Linked DNA regions of Homo sapiens: all the other regions are linked to region 2. Evidence: promoter capture Hi-C in 16 types of primary human blood cells and fetal thymus (Javierre and others, 2016). All regions are on one chromosome and are shown on one strand. The core of a region is centred on a gene start or on the middle of the fragment in contact, and the rest is flanking DNA. Distances in the headings are between cores, read along the strand shown.

The links. Contacts are between HindIII fragments. The CHiCAGO score rates a contact against its expected background, and 5 or more counts as called.
Region 1: a fragment that was not itself captured here is called in contact with the fragment with the promoter of SLC46A1 in region 2 in 2 of 17 cell types (M0 macrophages and M1 macrophages); the score reaches 5.3 in M0 macrophages.
Region 3: the fragment with the promoter of ALDOC here is called in contact with the fragment with the promoter of SLC46A1 in region 2 in 4 of 17 cell types (erythroblasts, megakaryocytes, naive CD4 T cells and 1 more); the score reaches 5.6 in erythroblasts.
Region 4: a contact is called between the fragment with the promoter of SPAG5 here and the fragment with the promoter of SLC46A1 in region 2, in 5 of 17 cell types (endothelial precursors, naive CD8 T cells, total CD8 T cells and 2 more). The highest score is 7.6, in endothelial precursors.

What each region holds. Positions count from the first base shown.
Region 1 is chr17:28,545,851-28,549,188 of GRCh38, forward strand. It overlaps UNC119 (unc-119 lipid binding chaperone), which reads right to left. Exons shown (of 5, transcript NM_005148.4): 2 at 2,742-2,855; 3 at 2,149-2,251; 4 at 1,827-1,999; 5 at 858-1,559. The coding sequence ends at 1,447. Among named protein-coding and RNA genes, the nearest start is that of UNC119, 5.1 kb to the right of the region's middle. RefSeq lists enhancers at 1,084-1,921, 1,759-1,868, 1,889-1,938, 1,922-2,758. The HindIII fragment of the contact is 1,297 bases long and covers 617-1,913 here.
Region 2 is chr17:28,404,898-28,408,627 of GRCh38, forward strand. SLC46A1 (solute carrier family 46 member 1) reads right to left here and starts at 1,315. Exons shown (of 5, transcript NM_080669.6): 1 at 990-1,315; 2 at 1-571. The coding sequence starts at 1,217. RefSeq lists enhancers at 1-329, 3,470-3,730 and silencers at 797-956, 1,157-1,496. The HindIII fragment of the contact is 6,961 bases long and covers 1-3,133 here.
Region 3 is chr17:28,575,276-28,578,504 of GRCh38, forward strand. ALDOC (aldolase, fructose-bisphosphate C) reads right to left here and starts at 1,620. Exons shown (of 9, transcript NM_005165.3): 1 at 1,526-1,620; 2 at 146-269; 3 at 1-59. The coding sequence starts at 257. SPAG5 (sperm associated antigen 5) reads right to left here. Exons shown (of 24, transcript NM_006461.4): 21 at 3,098-3,229; 22 at 2,943-3,017; 23 at 2,735-2,815; 24 at 2,299-2,495. The coding sequence ends at 2,424. RefSeq lists a silencer at 1,553-1,792 and an enhancer at 1,843-2,022. The HindIII fragment of the contact is 1,455 bases long and covers 434-1,888 here.
Region 4 is chr17:28,597,131-28,600,812 of GRCh38, forward strand. It overlaps SPAG5 (sperm associated antigen 5), which reads right to left and starts at 1,895. Exons shown (of 24, transcript NM_006461.4): 1 at 1,766-1,895; 2 at 1,380-1,505. The coding sequence starts at 1,816. It overlaps SPAG5-AS1 (SPAG5 antisense RNA 1), which reads left to right and starts at 2,003. Exons shown (of 3, transcript NR_040012.1): 1 at 2,003-2,116; 2 at 2,568-2,725. RefSeq lists enhancers at 1,557-2,101, 2,326-2,405 and a silencer at 1,806-2,115. The HindIII fragment of the contact is 7,511 bases long and covers 1-3,682 here.

The sequences.
Region 1 (3,338 bases), core at 15-2,514, 140 kb after region 2:
GAACGACTCTGATTCTTGCTCTCCGTGTCCCCAGTCCTTTTTTTTTCCCTAGGGACGAGTATGTGTTCCTTGTGTCTCACTCATTTCAGAATTCCCAGAATTCAGTGCAGATCCTAGCTCCACCCCACTTCCCCCAGCAAGGGCTTCACAGAATCAAGCTGAATGCCAGCACTTCTGGGCCTCCTAGGGCCAGAGCTCCTCAGCCCAGAGGGTGCGTCAGCTCTGGGCATATCTGAAGGAGGGCCTGAAACTGTAGGGTGTGCTCTCTGCCCACCTCAGTTCCTGAATTTCCTCCATTAAGCAGCCCCCTCCTCTGAGTCTGGGGTGGGGGTGGAGGCTGAGGGCAGTGTTATGTGCAGGGCTACCCAGGCATGGGGGCTCCCCAAGGCAGCTGAGGGCAAGGAGATGGCTCCAGGCCTTAGCCAAAGCCCTGCCACCGTCTATCATGAGGGCTAAAAACACAACCCAGTGGTCCTAGTGGCCTCTGGGGTTCAGGGAAGGTAGCGTGGAGGACAAGGCCAAACCCCCACCCCCCACACCTTCCCCTTGCACCCTGGAGTTCAGGGCCTTTGTTTCGGCCTCTGTTCTGCCAGGGTTGGCTCTGACTTTGGGCCAAAGCTTCCCCTCTCAGGGTCTGGGTCTCCTTCATCACAAGAAAGACCCTCTCCAGCTCCATCATGTTCTAAATGCTGACTCTATATGGTGTCAGGGTACAGAGAATCAGGGGACAGGAAGACTAAGGGGTGAGAGTGCACTGGAATGTGGGAGGTAGGAGAAATTTTTACTGCCTTAAGCACATTCCTGCCTATCCCTGCTCCCTTCTTTGCCCATACACACAGAGGCTGGCCACACCAGAGAACAGAAAAGGAAAAAGTTTATTGAAAACTATATACAGTTGGTCCAGCTCCTACCATGGGCTGCAATCTCAGCCAGTCCCTCCCACACCTTAGGCAGTGTCTTGGCCCCTCATGGGGAGGGATGGGGCTAGGCCTAGGGCCCAGACTCCCTTGGGTGGCTTGGCAGCTGGAGCCCACCGTGGATCTTTGTAAATTTACAACTCTAAATGGCCTGAAGGTAGTGGGCAGGGGACAGGGAATGGATCCCTGCCTGATCTAGTCACAGCCTTGATAGGGGAACACTATTCTGAAACTTGGGCCCAAGTAGGGCCCAGCTAAGTTGTCCGGAAGTCCTGACTGCTCCTCTCACAGGCCTTCCTAGACGTGGAGGCAAACAGCCTCCCTACGACCCCACCCCATGTAGCAGGCCGCATGGGCTTCATGGGCTTGACTGGGGACACCAGGTACCCTTCCTCCCAACATTGACTCAGGGTCCGGAGCTCCTGGAGAACTCCCCAAGCAGAGGACTTGGGGTTGAGGGGTGAGCGTTGGGGAGGTCACAGCTCCCAGCCCAGAACTGGAGCCTCCTGGGGTCAGGGCAGCCGTGGGGTCAGGGTGTCCCGCTGTAGGAATAGTCTGCTTTATTGTGCATCACCAGCCGGTCATCCACGAAGTAGAAGCTGTCAGACTGGGTCTCATACGGGTGGCGGATCATCTCGCTGACTGCAAGAGAGGCCCAGCCAGGCCGGGCAAAGGTCAGGAGCTTGAGTCCCGCCACTGCAGGGGCTTCAGGACTGGGGTACAGGGACAGCCAAACAGCCTGAAATATCCCCAGCCTCTTTCTCTACGGATGATATGGGAATGGTGGCAGACACAGAAGAGCCCCAGGGTGGGGAGAAATGGGATCAGACCCACAAGTCCCTCTCCCTCCCGCAGCTCAGTCTCTAGACGCCCCCACTTCCCCACTCCCAGAAGACCCTGCCCGCGCACTCAGCTCCTCGGAGAGAGGGGGGAAGTCGTAAATGTGCTCGCAGGTGTTCTTGCTGCTGGGGATGCAGAAGCCAAAGTGGAAGTCGAAGCTTTTGAGTAGCTGGTTGCGGAAGTAGTGCCTCTCGATCATGCGGAAGTTGTTGACAGGCTTGTCTCCCACTGTGAACTCCACCCTGAGCAAGAAAAGGAGGCAGGGCTAAGTCTGTCCTTGAAGTCAACTAGCCAGCCAGGCTCAGGACAGGCCACCCCTACGAGAGGCTGAGAAGGGCCCACTCACACCCTCTCCCTCACCCCCACCACCACCCATAGCCCAGCGACTCACGTGGCTCCCACCTGCCTCAGGCGGAGGAAGGCAGGCGTGAACTGGTAGCGGACAAAGCGCCCAGCATTGGGGTCCAGGTCCCGCCGGTTGATGGGCAACCGTTCTGCAATGTACCCCAGCTGGGGCTCAGTGGGCTTCAGGCTGGGCCCTTGTCCACCCAGGGTTCTACCCTTGGGTCCCCATCTATCTGATTTTTTTTAAACTCCCCAAGAAATTCCGGGGCACACTGAGGGCTCAGACCATTGGCCAAATAGTGCCACCTAGGGGTTCTAGGTCTGCATGTTCCCAATCGCCACTGTGCTTCCCCGGGCCACAGGATGCTGAGGCCTGGGACCCGTAGGACTGCAGTTCCCAGAGAGCCCTGCAGAGGGCAGGTTGGCAGGGACCGAAGGGGTAGGGCTGACCTCGCAAGATGTCCAGCCTCAGAAACATATGGGAAGGAAAAGAAAGGGCCCCCCTGCCTGCAGACTCCTGAGAATGCTGGGGTCCAAGCCCCAGCTCTGTGGACTCCTCTGTGGCCCAAGGATTCCCTGGGCAGCCCACTCCGCAGCTCCTATCTGCCTCCCCATCAATGGCCCACCCAGCCCACTCACCTGAGACTGGGGGCTTCTTGATTTCAAAGAGGACAGTGCCTGAGTCCATGTCCCGAATCTTAAACCTGACAAAGTCGATCTTGTAGATATTCTCCTCAGGGGAGCAGAGGTAGTCTAGGGGAAACAGGCAGCTGAGCAAGGAAGGGGCCGCAAAGCCCCTGCTGCCAGGTCAGCTTGTGTGGGACCCCAGAGTAGCTACCATCTTCTCATCCCTGGGATCACTGCCCTCTGGAAAGAGGGACCTCAGTCCCTGCCCTTGGGGTACACCCCCAGTGTGGAAGAGACATAACTCCGCCATGGGGATCTAACAGGGGATAAGGAGTGCCATCCTACTGGTCTCTGGGGGCCAGGGAAGGGCAGGGCAGAGAAGGGTAGAGGACAAGGCCACCTCCTGAACACTCTCTCTCCCACTCTGGAGTTGAGGGTCCTCATTCTGGCCTCCGCTCTGCCAAGGCTGGCTAGATGACTTTGGGAGAATTAGGTATCCAGCCTGGTGGGAGCCTCTCTTCTCATATGGGAACAACTTCCTGCAGTCTGACCTGTCTCTTCTACTGCAACTCAGTGTATCAACTTCTCTGGTACCCTGCCTTTGAGAAC
Region 2 (3,730 bases), core at 65-2,564:
AATGTTTCCTGGACTTCTCTGGGGCGGGAGCCACATAGAGCTGGACAATGGATCGGTGGTGACGGAACGTGAAGAGCCGGGTGGACTTTGGCTCCTTTAAGGTCTCACCAAAGCAGAAAGCTGCATAGAGAGTCATGGCTATCAGCAAGGCCAAGGCCAGCCAGAAGGGGTTGGCATAACCCTGGGCCCGGAGCCAGTGGCCCCCGAGGAGGCTTGCCAGCATCCCAGCCACCCCGATGCTGGCTTCCAGCAGGGCCATCCGGAAGGTGCGGCTGCGACTGGAGCTGACATCTGCCACGGACGCAAAGCTAGCAGCCAGAAGGCCACCGAAGTCGCCGAGGAGGGCACAAAGGATGCGACCCAGCACGAAGTAGCCGACGTGGAGCTGCAGCTGCACCACAAAAACGGACACTAGGGCCTGGAGCAGCAGGCCCAGCGAGGCCAGCACTAGCAGCGGGCGGCGGCCCACACTGTCGCTCCAAGCTCCCAGCAGGGTGGACGAGAAGAGCCCCACCAGGAAGCCGCCCACGTTCATGTAGAGGGTCCAGTGGGAGGTAAGGGTCTCCACTTCCTGTAGGGGCACAATGACCAGGGTGCGGTTCCTCACTCTGGGTTCCACAATCCCCAAATCCTCGCCATCCCGGGAGCTACAGGGATGAGGACTTCCTTTGGAGCCCTAAACCTCAGAGAATCTTAGCACAGCTTTCAAAATCTGCCAGTGGAGAGGGGGAAGGACATGGACCAAGGCCCCATTCCCTTTCCTTTCCCCCCCCTTTTGTTAACCTGCAAGGCCAGACTTTAGCTCAGCTTTTCGCATCCCACCCGCTGAGGTTCTCGGTCAGGCCCCTTTGCTCTGGTCCCGCCCACCATCCAAAATGCACCCTCCCTCCAGTTACCCGCCACTACCATTACGCAGGCCCCGCCCCTCCGCTGCCCCCACGCTCCAGACCAGGGCCCTCCACCTGCCAGGCTCCTCGCCGCCCCGCTACCTGCATGGTGGGGTCCGCGCTGCGGTTGCTGCAGCCCCCCCTTTGGCGGGTGCCATTGTAGCCGAGGTCGGCGCTGAAGCGGTGCCACAGATACTGCGTGGTGAGCGGGCCCTGCAGGACCAAGGCAAAGTTGGCCAGGAAGACCAGCGGCTCTACCGGGCCCCGGCACAGCACGGCAGCCGCAGGGCGGGCGCGGGGCTTTTCCGGGGGGCTCGCGCTCCCCTCCATGTGCGTGCGCGGCGGAGCTGTCGCCAGGCGGGCGGCGGGGCGCGCGAGCGACTCGCTGCCTGGGACCAGCGACGCGTGGCGTGGGGCTTGCGCTGTCTGCGCCTGCGCCCGGCGTCCCTCCTTAAATGTCCGGCGGGGAGGGGCCTGTGACCTGAGGCCACCGGACTCTCGCCGCGGGTGCACCTGGCTGGGCGTGGGCCAGCGAGGGGCCCGGCACCCCCAGCCCGCGGGATGACCTCACCTGTAAAGTGTGCGTAGACACCGCCCTGCAGCCCTCCCTCCCGGCCCAGACACACCACAGATAACAAGAATATCAACAATTAACATGTATTGACCACTTACTATGTGCTGGGCACGGTATTAAACCCTTTTTGTGCGTTGGTCTCCCGATAACTCTACAGGCTAGCCAATATTAACCATCGCTATCTACCGCTGAGGAAACGAGGTCATCGGGTACTCAAGGCAGAGCTGGAAGAGCACATGACTCCTGATGCTGCTGATGTTCTGCGCTGTAACAGAGAGGCAGCTGGAGAGGATCGGAGTGGGCTGAGCCCAGCTGCCTGGGTTGGAGCACCTAGGCTCTGCCACTACCTTCGGCATGCCACTTACCACCCTGAGCCTCTGTTTTTTCATCTGTAAAATGGAGTTGCTAACAAAACATGTCTCAAAAAGTTGTGGAAAAGCAGTGTCTGGTATATTCAAAGTGCTATTATTGCTATTAACAGGCTGTCACGTCTGGGAGTGGTGGCTCACACCTGTAATCCCAGCACTTTTGGAGGCTGAGGCGCATGGATCGCTTGAACCCAGGAGTTCGAGACCAATCTGGGCAACATGGTAAAACCCTGTCTCTACAAAAAATACACAAAAATTAGCCAGGCGTAGTAGCAGATACCTGTAGTCCCAGGTACTCGGGTGGCTGAGGTGGGAGGATCAATTGAGCCCAGGAGGCAGAGGTTGCAGTGGGCTGAGATCGCACCACTGCACTCCAGCCTGGGTGACAGAGCAAGACCCTGTCTCAAAAAATATAAAATAAAAATAAAATAAAAAACAAGCTGTCACTTGCTCCACTCCTGCCCTAGGATCTTTTCCTGGGAAACTAGTCTTGTTTCTGGGGTCAGGCAGGGCCTGGCTCTGCAGTTCCCTTAGAGAAGATGGGGGAGGGCCTGGGAGGTCCTTGGGTGTGAACCTATGCTCCTGGGTGGCTCCCATTATAGGAATTAGGCCAGAAGGCAGTCACCTGCTCTGCTGCTGAGGAGGTCAGACCCTGTCTGGGCCTCTGTTTTATTGCCTGTAAAAAGGAACAGCATTACCTTCCTTACTCCCCTATCTTTCATTCATTCAGCTCATTTACTGAGTGCCCCTTACGTGCCAGGCACTGTGCTGGGGGACTCCGGGACCACAACAGGAAAGGAAATAGACAAAGCCCTCACCAGGCCCGTTAGTTTCTAGAATGGTGGGAGAGGAAAAATAGTCAAAGAATCCTACTAATTGATACAAAATTCCAACCGTGGAAAATAGTTTTGAACTCCAAGGGTGCTAATTCAGGGGCTGGAGGTAGGGGGAGCAGAATCAGGAAAGGCCACCTTCCCTGAGAACAGAGCAGCTGAGTGGGTTTCTGGAGGCAGGTCCTGACAGGCCTGATTCTTGGGAGGATGGATGGCTCCAATTCTGGCCACTGTGACTGTGCCTGGGCCTGTTGGAGCTTGTTAGCTACCCCACCTCCCCTGAGCCAGGAGTCCGAGACTCAGGATGGGTAGGTGCTGGCTAGATACTAGTGAACTGAATAACCTCCCCCTGCAAGCTGCCCCCACCTGTGGTCCCCTAGAGAGAGGAAATTCCACATTAAACATTCAAGCCTCTGGATTGGCTCCACTCTCCTCCCTCCCCTTCCAACTCCTCCCTACCACTTACACAAAAGCTTGGCCCAGTTAGGTCAGCTGCAGTGAGGGAGGGGTACTTGGCTAAATCCTTGGAATTATTTCTTAGATAAAGAACTAAGGCTAGGAGAGGCCAAGGTCCCTCATCAGGAATGGGACAGGGTGTGGCTCATCCCAGAGCCAGAGCCTGCAGTACCCACTAGGGTAGAGGTCTTTTCTAACTCCTTGAAAACAGCTGCAATCAGGTCACTGGCCTGCTCAAAACCATCCTGGGCTTTCCATTTCGCTCAGTGAGAGCCAAGTCCTTATGAGAGCCCTAAGGCCACCTACCTCTTCTCTGTCCCTCTCCCCTGCTTTGTCCCCCTCAATCCTTGTGCTCAAGCCATGCTGGCCTCCTGCTTTAGGGCCTTTACACTTGCGGTAACTACTACCTAGAATGCTCTTCTGGATATCTGCCTGGCCGGCTCCCTCACTTCCTTCAAGTCTCCACTAAAATGTCACCTGACCCTCCTATATAAGCAACTTCCCTCCTTCCTTGCTTCCTGGCACTCCCTAATCCTTTACCCTGTTTCATTTTTTTCCATAGTGTTTATCACCATCTGAATTATAACTTTCTGGTTTCTTTGTTGTCCATCT
Region 3 (3,229 bases), core at 370-2,869, 170 kb after region 2:
CCGGCGGTTCTCCTCTGTGTTTTCCACCCCAATTTGGCTCAGCCGCTTGGCCATGCTGCCTAGGGGCAAACAAAGAGAGGCAGTGAGAACATCCCCAGGGTCCCCTAGCCACCTGTACCCTACCTGGCTACAGATGTCCACTTACCTACAGACTCATCCGCAGCCAGAATGCCTTTGCCCGGGGCTACAATCCGCAGGGCAATGTCAGACAACTCCTTCTTCTGCTCAGCAGAAAGGGCTGGGTACGAGTGAGGCATGGTGACAGCTCCCTGGAGTGGAGACAAGATAAAAAAGCCAGACCTCACCCTCTGCTGCCTCTCCTGGCCAGATGGGCCAAATGGCCTCCCCATCAAGCAAGGGGCTGGGAACAGGGCAGCAGTCCTTGGCATGAGTCCTGGGCATCAAGTGGCACCAGTCCTTCTGACAGCTAGCAAGCTTAGGGCTCCAGTTCCCACATCTCCTTTTGTCCCTGGTAGGCATCCTTCCCAGCCCTGGGGAAAGATGCAGGGTGGGGGTGGGGAGGTGAGCAGCCCTGAAGCCACAGCTCTTCTGATAAATCTGCTGCCCAATCAAGGATGCCAACCCTTCTTTCACTGAACTTGGTCCCTTGTTGAGGTAGGCAAAAGTCCTGGCCTTTCCAGCTTCCCTTTTCTCATCCTCCACAGGACCCCTAGGGAAAGTGTACTTACTTCCAAGGCTTCAGAATGAGGCAAAAGTACTTATTGCCACCCTCTTCTCTCAGCTTCTAGAGGAAAAGGTTGGAAGAACAGGTAGGGAGTAGGAGTGGCACAAATACCAGTCACAGGCTCCTGCAGCTTCTCCTTTTCTGTACTCCAAACCTGCCTGCCTATGCCTATTGCCTATTCCCACCCAGTACCAGAGGTTGGCCCCAGTGGGGCTGCAGTGATGTAGGAAAGAGGGCCCAGCGGGTCAGCTGTGTTAGTGTGTGGAGACTAGGGCTAGTGACACCTCCGGGTCATCTCTGTGCCCAGGAAGCACTTCACCTGTTTGGCAGGAGGATAGCAATAGGAAGCACTTCAATTCCCCACAACTCAGACACCCAGACGGGAGGGCAGAGGACCAAGGCTGAAAGGAGTAGAGAGCCTGAGAGAGAGATGAGACTGAGGGGAGCTAGTGGTGATGCAGGCTAACCAGTCAGCGGGAGAGACCTAGACCGGGGGGCAGAGAAGGCGGGAGAACTGGAGAGAGGACCTAGCCTAGGAGGAGAGGGAGCAGGCTGAGAAGGAAATGCTCTGGGTAGGAGAGACAGACTCCAAGGAAAAATCCAACAAGTAGAGGAGGATTTGGGATTGGAAAAGCTGAGGTCCAGCTGGGAGAGCTGAAGAGGGATAGAACAGAAGAGGTTGAGCCATGGGGTTTCAAGTACGCGGAAAGGAGCAAAGATGTTAGGAAAGGGTCGAAAGGGCACATCCCGGAGTCCCAGGTAGCAGGACGAGGATGGCAGGGGAAGAGCCAAGGAAATGAAGCGGAGATGTTGAGTGGCTCCCGCCTTGCCTGGCCTTACCTGTGCGCAGCCAGTTAGCAGCCGCAGCCACAAGCACAGCTCGGGTTCTGATCCGCAAACAGATGAGGCTGCAGCCCTGGCTCCCTCTGGTAAATGAGGCTGCGGATGTCGCAGAGCTACGTGACTCCTCCGGGGGCGTGGCCTGCATGCCCCGCCCTGACCACACCCCCTCCCCAGGACTGGTGTCCGGGGCAAGACCACGCCCTCAGAGGCGGGGCGGCGAGGTGGAGTGAGCGCCCCGCCAGGCATCCGTGGCTGTTAGGGACTGCCCTCCCACCTCGGGGAGCCTGGCCATGACCTTGCGTTCATTTCTGCCACAATCCCTTTACCACGTGCCGGGCACTTGCTGGATGCTGGGGATTAAGCTTAGTCTGGTGAAGAGGAGGCACCAGAACAGTAACAACAGGTTGAGTAGGTGGGGCAGAAGCATCTTCAAGGTGCCCAAGTTCAGGGCAGGAAGTAATGAACTGAGCTTCTCTGTCCTCACCCCCATATTTGCCAGGGTATACCCCCGAGGGGGCTGGGGAAAGTAAGAGAATGAAGCCTTTCTGTTTCCTCCAGGCGGTGAGCCAGGGAACAAGCAGTCCAGTGCCCAGAGTTTTGGTGAAAGCAGAGGAAGGGAGGAAGGGCAGGCAGCCTTGGCTTTGGATGCAGCAGGAGGTGGAGAGGGATCTATGGAGGGTGCCCAGGCAGGAGGCCCAAGCTGCTTCTTCCCTGACTTCATCATCCGCCCCCTCTCACCCAAAAAGTAAGATTCCGTAAGCTTGGAGAAATTCATTAAATACACTTTATTTAAATAGCATTTATCTCAGTTGGCTCTATGCCAGTTGGTCTTGGTATTGGGGTAAGGGGGTATTGCAGGTAAAAAGAGGTGAAGCAGATTCTGGCTTTCAGTTTCTTAGCTCAGAAATTCCAGCAATCCCTGTAGTTCTTTGCATCCCCTCACCACCTCTGGAATAGAGAGCAGGGTCTGGGAAGAGAGGCAGAAAACGCAGCTCAGGACCACAGACTTAAGGCCCAGGGCTCCCAGCCCCAGGAGGCAGCCGCTGAATTAGAGGGGAGAAAACAGACACCACAGAGAAGCCTGCAATAGTGATTCAGGCCCAGCTCTCAGCACAGGCTGGGAACCAGATCTGTGCTCATTAGTACCTCCTGGGGCCAGGCCTTGTACCAGGTTCATTAGTGATATCACCTCCCTCCTGCCTATACCTTATAAATATGCTGAACAATGTCATCTAGTTTTTCTAACTCCTTGTCAGAGCGCCGAAGGTTCTCCTCTAGGATATTTCTCTAGAAAGCAAACAGATTTTATAAGTCCTATGCATAAAAGAGCAAACTTGGTAGGACAGGGGAAACATGGCGGGGCATTTGTTAACGATGGTAGGAAATGGCCCTGGAATGGCATGGACATTCTTACATGGCTCTGGAACTTGATCATGAGTTTTTCCTTCTCATTTTTCATCTCCAGGAACATCACTCTCAGTTTGTCCACCTAGAAATATGTCCAGATCAACAGGGGTACAGCCTGGGGTCCCCACCTGCTGTCCAGCTCCTCTGTTAACTCTGAGTCACCTCCTGAGAGAGCCACACTTTCTCCTGGATCCAATTGGTGGCCATAGGCTGGCAGTTGGAGTCCAGCTGGCCTGCCAGGGCCTCCTGGAGCACTTTGGTCTCTGTCTCCGCACGCCGAAGTGAGCGGGTAAG
Region 4 (3,682 bases), core at 645-3,144, 190 kb after region 2:
TTCAGGCCAGGCACAGTGGCTCACACCTGTAATCCCAGCACTTTGGGAGGCCGAGGCGGGCGGACCACTTGAGGTCAGGAGTTTGAGACCAGCCTGGCCAACATTGTGAAACCCTGTCTCTACTAAAAATACAAAAAATTAGCCAGGCGTGGTGGTGTGCACCTGTAATCCCAGTTACTCAGGAGCCTGAGGCAGGAGAATCGCTTGAGCCCTGGAGGCGGAGATTGCAGTGAGCCAAGATCACGCCACTGCACTCCAGCCTGGGTGACAGAGCAAGACTCCGTCTCAAAAACAAAAAAATTCAATTCTTCAGTCACCTCAGCCACGTTTTAAGTGCTCAATAACCATGTGACTAGTAGTTACCATGCTGGACAGCACAGATTATCAAATATTTCCCTCATCCCAGAAAGTTCTATTGGACAGTAGGTATTTTGCAACTCTTTCAAGAAAGACTGCTATGCTATCATCATACTTCTGTTACTCAGGATGTCATCTGTCTATACACTCTTCTTTCCTCCTCATACCTATTTTATTGATATCCCATCTCCTTCCAAAAATAATTCATATGCATGAAAATGAATAGATACGATTAATGAAATAACAAAGTCATGGTCAAAAAAGAGGAAGCAAAACTTCCTATACAGCTATAACAGTAGCTGTATGTGATGATCCAGTTTGGCCTTGAGCTTTCTAGAAGGCAGAGCAAGAGGGAAAATATGGTAAACTACATAGTTCTCATTATCAGAAAGAAAAGGATAGCAATTTCTTCAGGAAGACAATTTTTCCAGGCAGTTAGTCCTAAAGCCTTTCTTGGAGGAATCTTATACAGGAGTCAAGCTGCTTCCTTGACAAGTTTTGACAGCAACTGAAATGCAGTTTCTACATGGCTACGTCTCTCAAAACGTTTAACAAAAGTACAAATCAGTGAGGGCAATTCTGCAAGGAGCTAGTTTAAACTAAGGTGATTCAAGTACCCTACCTTCCAGTGGTGTAACTTGATCCCAGGAGAGTTCTAACTACCTCCTAGAGTAAATGGATATTGCCTCAATCTTGCAGGTGACTGACCTTTCCGTAAGTGACCCCATGTTGGAGGAAGAGCACTAATCAGGGTGGTAGGATTTCTCAATAGTTTGATAAAGGTCGAAGGGAGGAGGAGGAGGTAATAAAAACTAACAGCTAAACAGAGATTCAAGTTCTCACTGGATTTCCTTTAACCACCCTAGGGCACCTCTCTGTTGGCCTGAATAGCTGTAAATGGATGTCACCGACGTAGAAGACTTCATTATCGTTATTAATTATTGTAGCCCTGGCCCTCTGTTCCCCTGAGCTCTCACCCTGGGCAAACAGCCCAGTCGAGAAGCTGTCCAGGCGAATCTCACCTGCAGCCCCAGCTTGCACAGTGATGGGGTCAGCGAGGAGCAAGCGGGGGATCTTTTTCCAGAGTTGGTGAGGGCACCGGGCTGCAGGGTAAGTTCACGGAGAGGAGTTCTCATAGATGGTTTTCCCTGAGAAAGAAACCAAGAAAGAGGGCGAGTGTGAGGAAGCCTGGGTTCTGCCAGCCCGCCCCTCCTCCCTCCCTAAGAAGCCCAAAATGCGATTAGAAGAGTACGCTCGCACCCTAGTCGCGCAGGAGCAGCAAGGCGAACAAAGACTCCACAAGCCCCCAACCCCGGGCTCGACCCAACTTTCCAGGACAGTAGACACGGCCGGTGCCCCCGCGACAGCAGCCCGGCCCAGTTCTCTCCGCCAGAGATCTCCCGCTTACCGTCTGGGGCGAAGGCGACAGGCTGAGGCTCAGTTTTTTCACTCGCCACATCTTCAACCAGAAGGCAGGCCTATCACGTCTCAGACCAAGTCGAGGACGCCATGTTCACCCGCCGTCTGTGTTTGAACCTGCTCTGCGCTTCCTGGTTGGCTGCTTCAGGCGCGCGCGTACGCTCGGGGGTAGAGCCCGGGGGGCGGGGCCCGCGTTGACCACGCCCCCGGCCCTGCCTGCCCCTCCGTTGTCGAGCGTTTTCCGCTGACGGAGCCCTCACCTCAGACACCGGCGGTAGGGCTGGATGCGGGCCCGGCCCAGGACCGGTCTTCTGTCCTCACACCGGGGAGGACCACGCAGGTAGCTGGAGAGTCCAGGAGTCCATCCCTCCTGCTTCCAGCGGACCTCCTCACATCCATGGTGTTCATATCCAAGTTGTCTCCGTGGATGGAGAAGAGGAATCCTCTCCCTAGGTCTCCCTCAGTCCTCTCCAGCCGCAGCCTTGACGGGAAAGAGCCGGCCAGGGAGTCTAGAAGCCGAAGCGGTGCCGAGCGGCTTCCCTAGGCTTGGTGGGCCCGCGTCCGGGACGGCCCGGGCCGTGGTTCTCGACCTGGGCTGTAATGTCTCCAGAGTTTCTGGGCTTTTCCTGGGACTTACTCAGGCCGGCTACCAGTTTACTGGGCTAACCGCCTACATGTATTGAACATTGAGTGTGTGCCTGGCGCTATGCCGAATGCCGTGTAGTAGCTCATTTAATGCGCATAAGGACCTACGTAGTGAGAAATACTATAAATATCCCCATTTGTGACAGGAAGGAGCTGAGTCAGAGAGACCGTGTGTAATTTGCTCAGCGTCACACAGATAGTAAACGGCAGAGCCGCTCTTCCTCCCTGTCCCGCCAGCTCCTGCCTTCTGCTGTCTTGGATCTCCTATGCACGGGAAACCTGTTGAAGGTAGGACAGCCGAAAGGTCAGTATTCAGAGTGAGCCGTTTGCGAAGGTGTGTGTGCTTTGCACACTCACGGCGCCCTGTTTACACTCTGCAAGTCTTAATACATAGGGGGAAAGCAGCAGTCCAAAGAGGAGGAACTATGATGTTATAAACTGCAGCGTCCTCAGGGACGGGCTCCTCTAGCATTGTGTTGTCCAGTACGTTAGCCCTAGCCATAGTGGCTTTTGAGCACTTCAGATGTGACTAGTCCCAGTGGGAATGTGCTATAAATGTAAAACACTGTACAAACTGGATTTCAAACACGTCGTATGAAAAAAAGAATGCAAAATATCGCCAGGTGCGGTGGCTCATGCCTGTAATCCCAGCACGGAGGAGACAGAGGCAGGAGGATCCTTTAAGCCCAGGAGTTCGAGACCTGCCTCGGCAATATAGTGAGACCTATGTCTACAAAAAAAAAATTTGGGCCGGGCACGGTGGCTCACGCCTATAATCCCGCACTTCGGGAGGCCGAGGCAGGCGGATCACCTGAGGTCAGGAGTTCGAGACCAGCCTGCCCAACACGGCGAAACCCCGTTTCTACTAAAAATACAAAAATTAGCCAGGTGTGGTGGCACACGCCTGTAATCCCAGCTACTTGGGAGGCTGAGGCAGGAAGAATCTCTTGAACCTGGGAGGCGGAGGTTGCAGTGAGCTGAGATGGCACCACTACACTCCAGCCTGGGTGACAGAGCTAGACTCCGTCTCAAAAAAAAAAAAAAGTTAAGCCAGGGGTGGCAGGGTTGGGGGCACACACCTATAATCCCAGCTTGGGAGGATCGCTTGAACCTAGTTCAAGGCTGCTGTGAGCTATGATCATCCCACTGCACTCTAGCCTGGGCGACAAAGCAAGACCTTGTCTCAAAAAAAAAAAAAAATATATATATATATATTTTTTTTTTTTAATACTGTTTACATATTGAAATATTTTAGGAATAT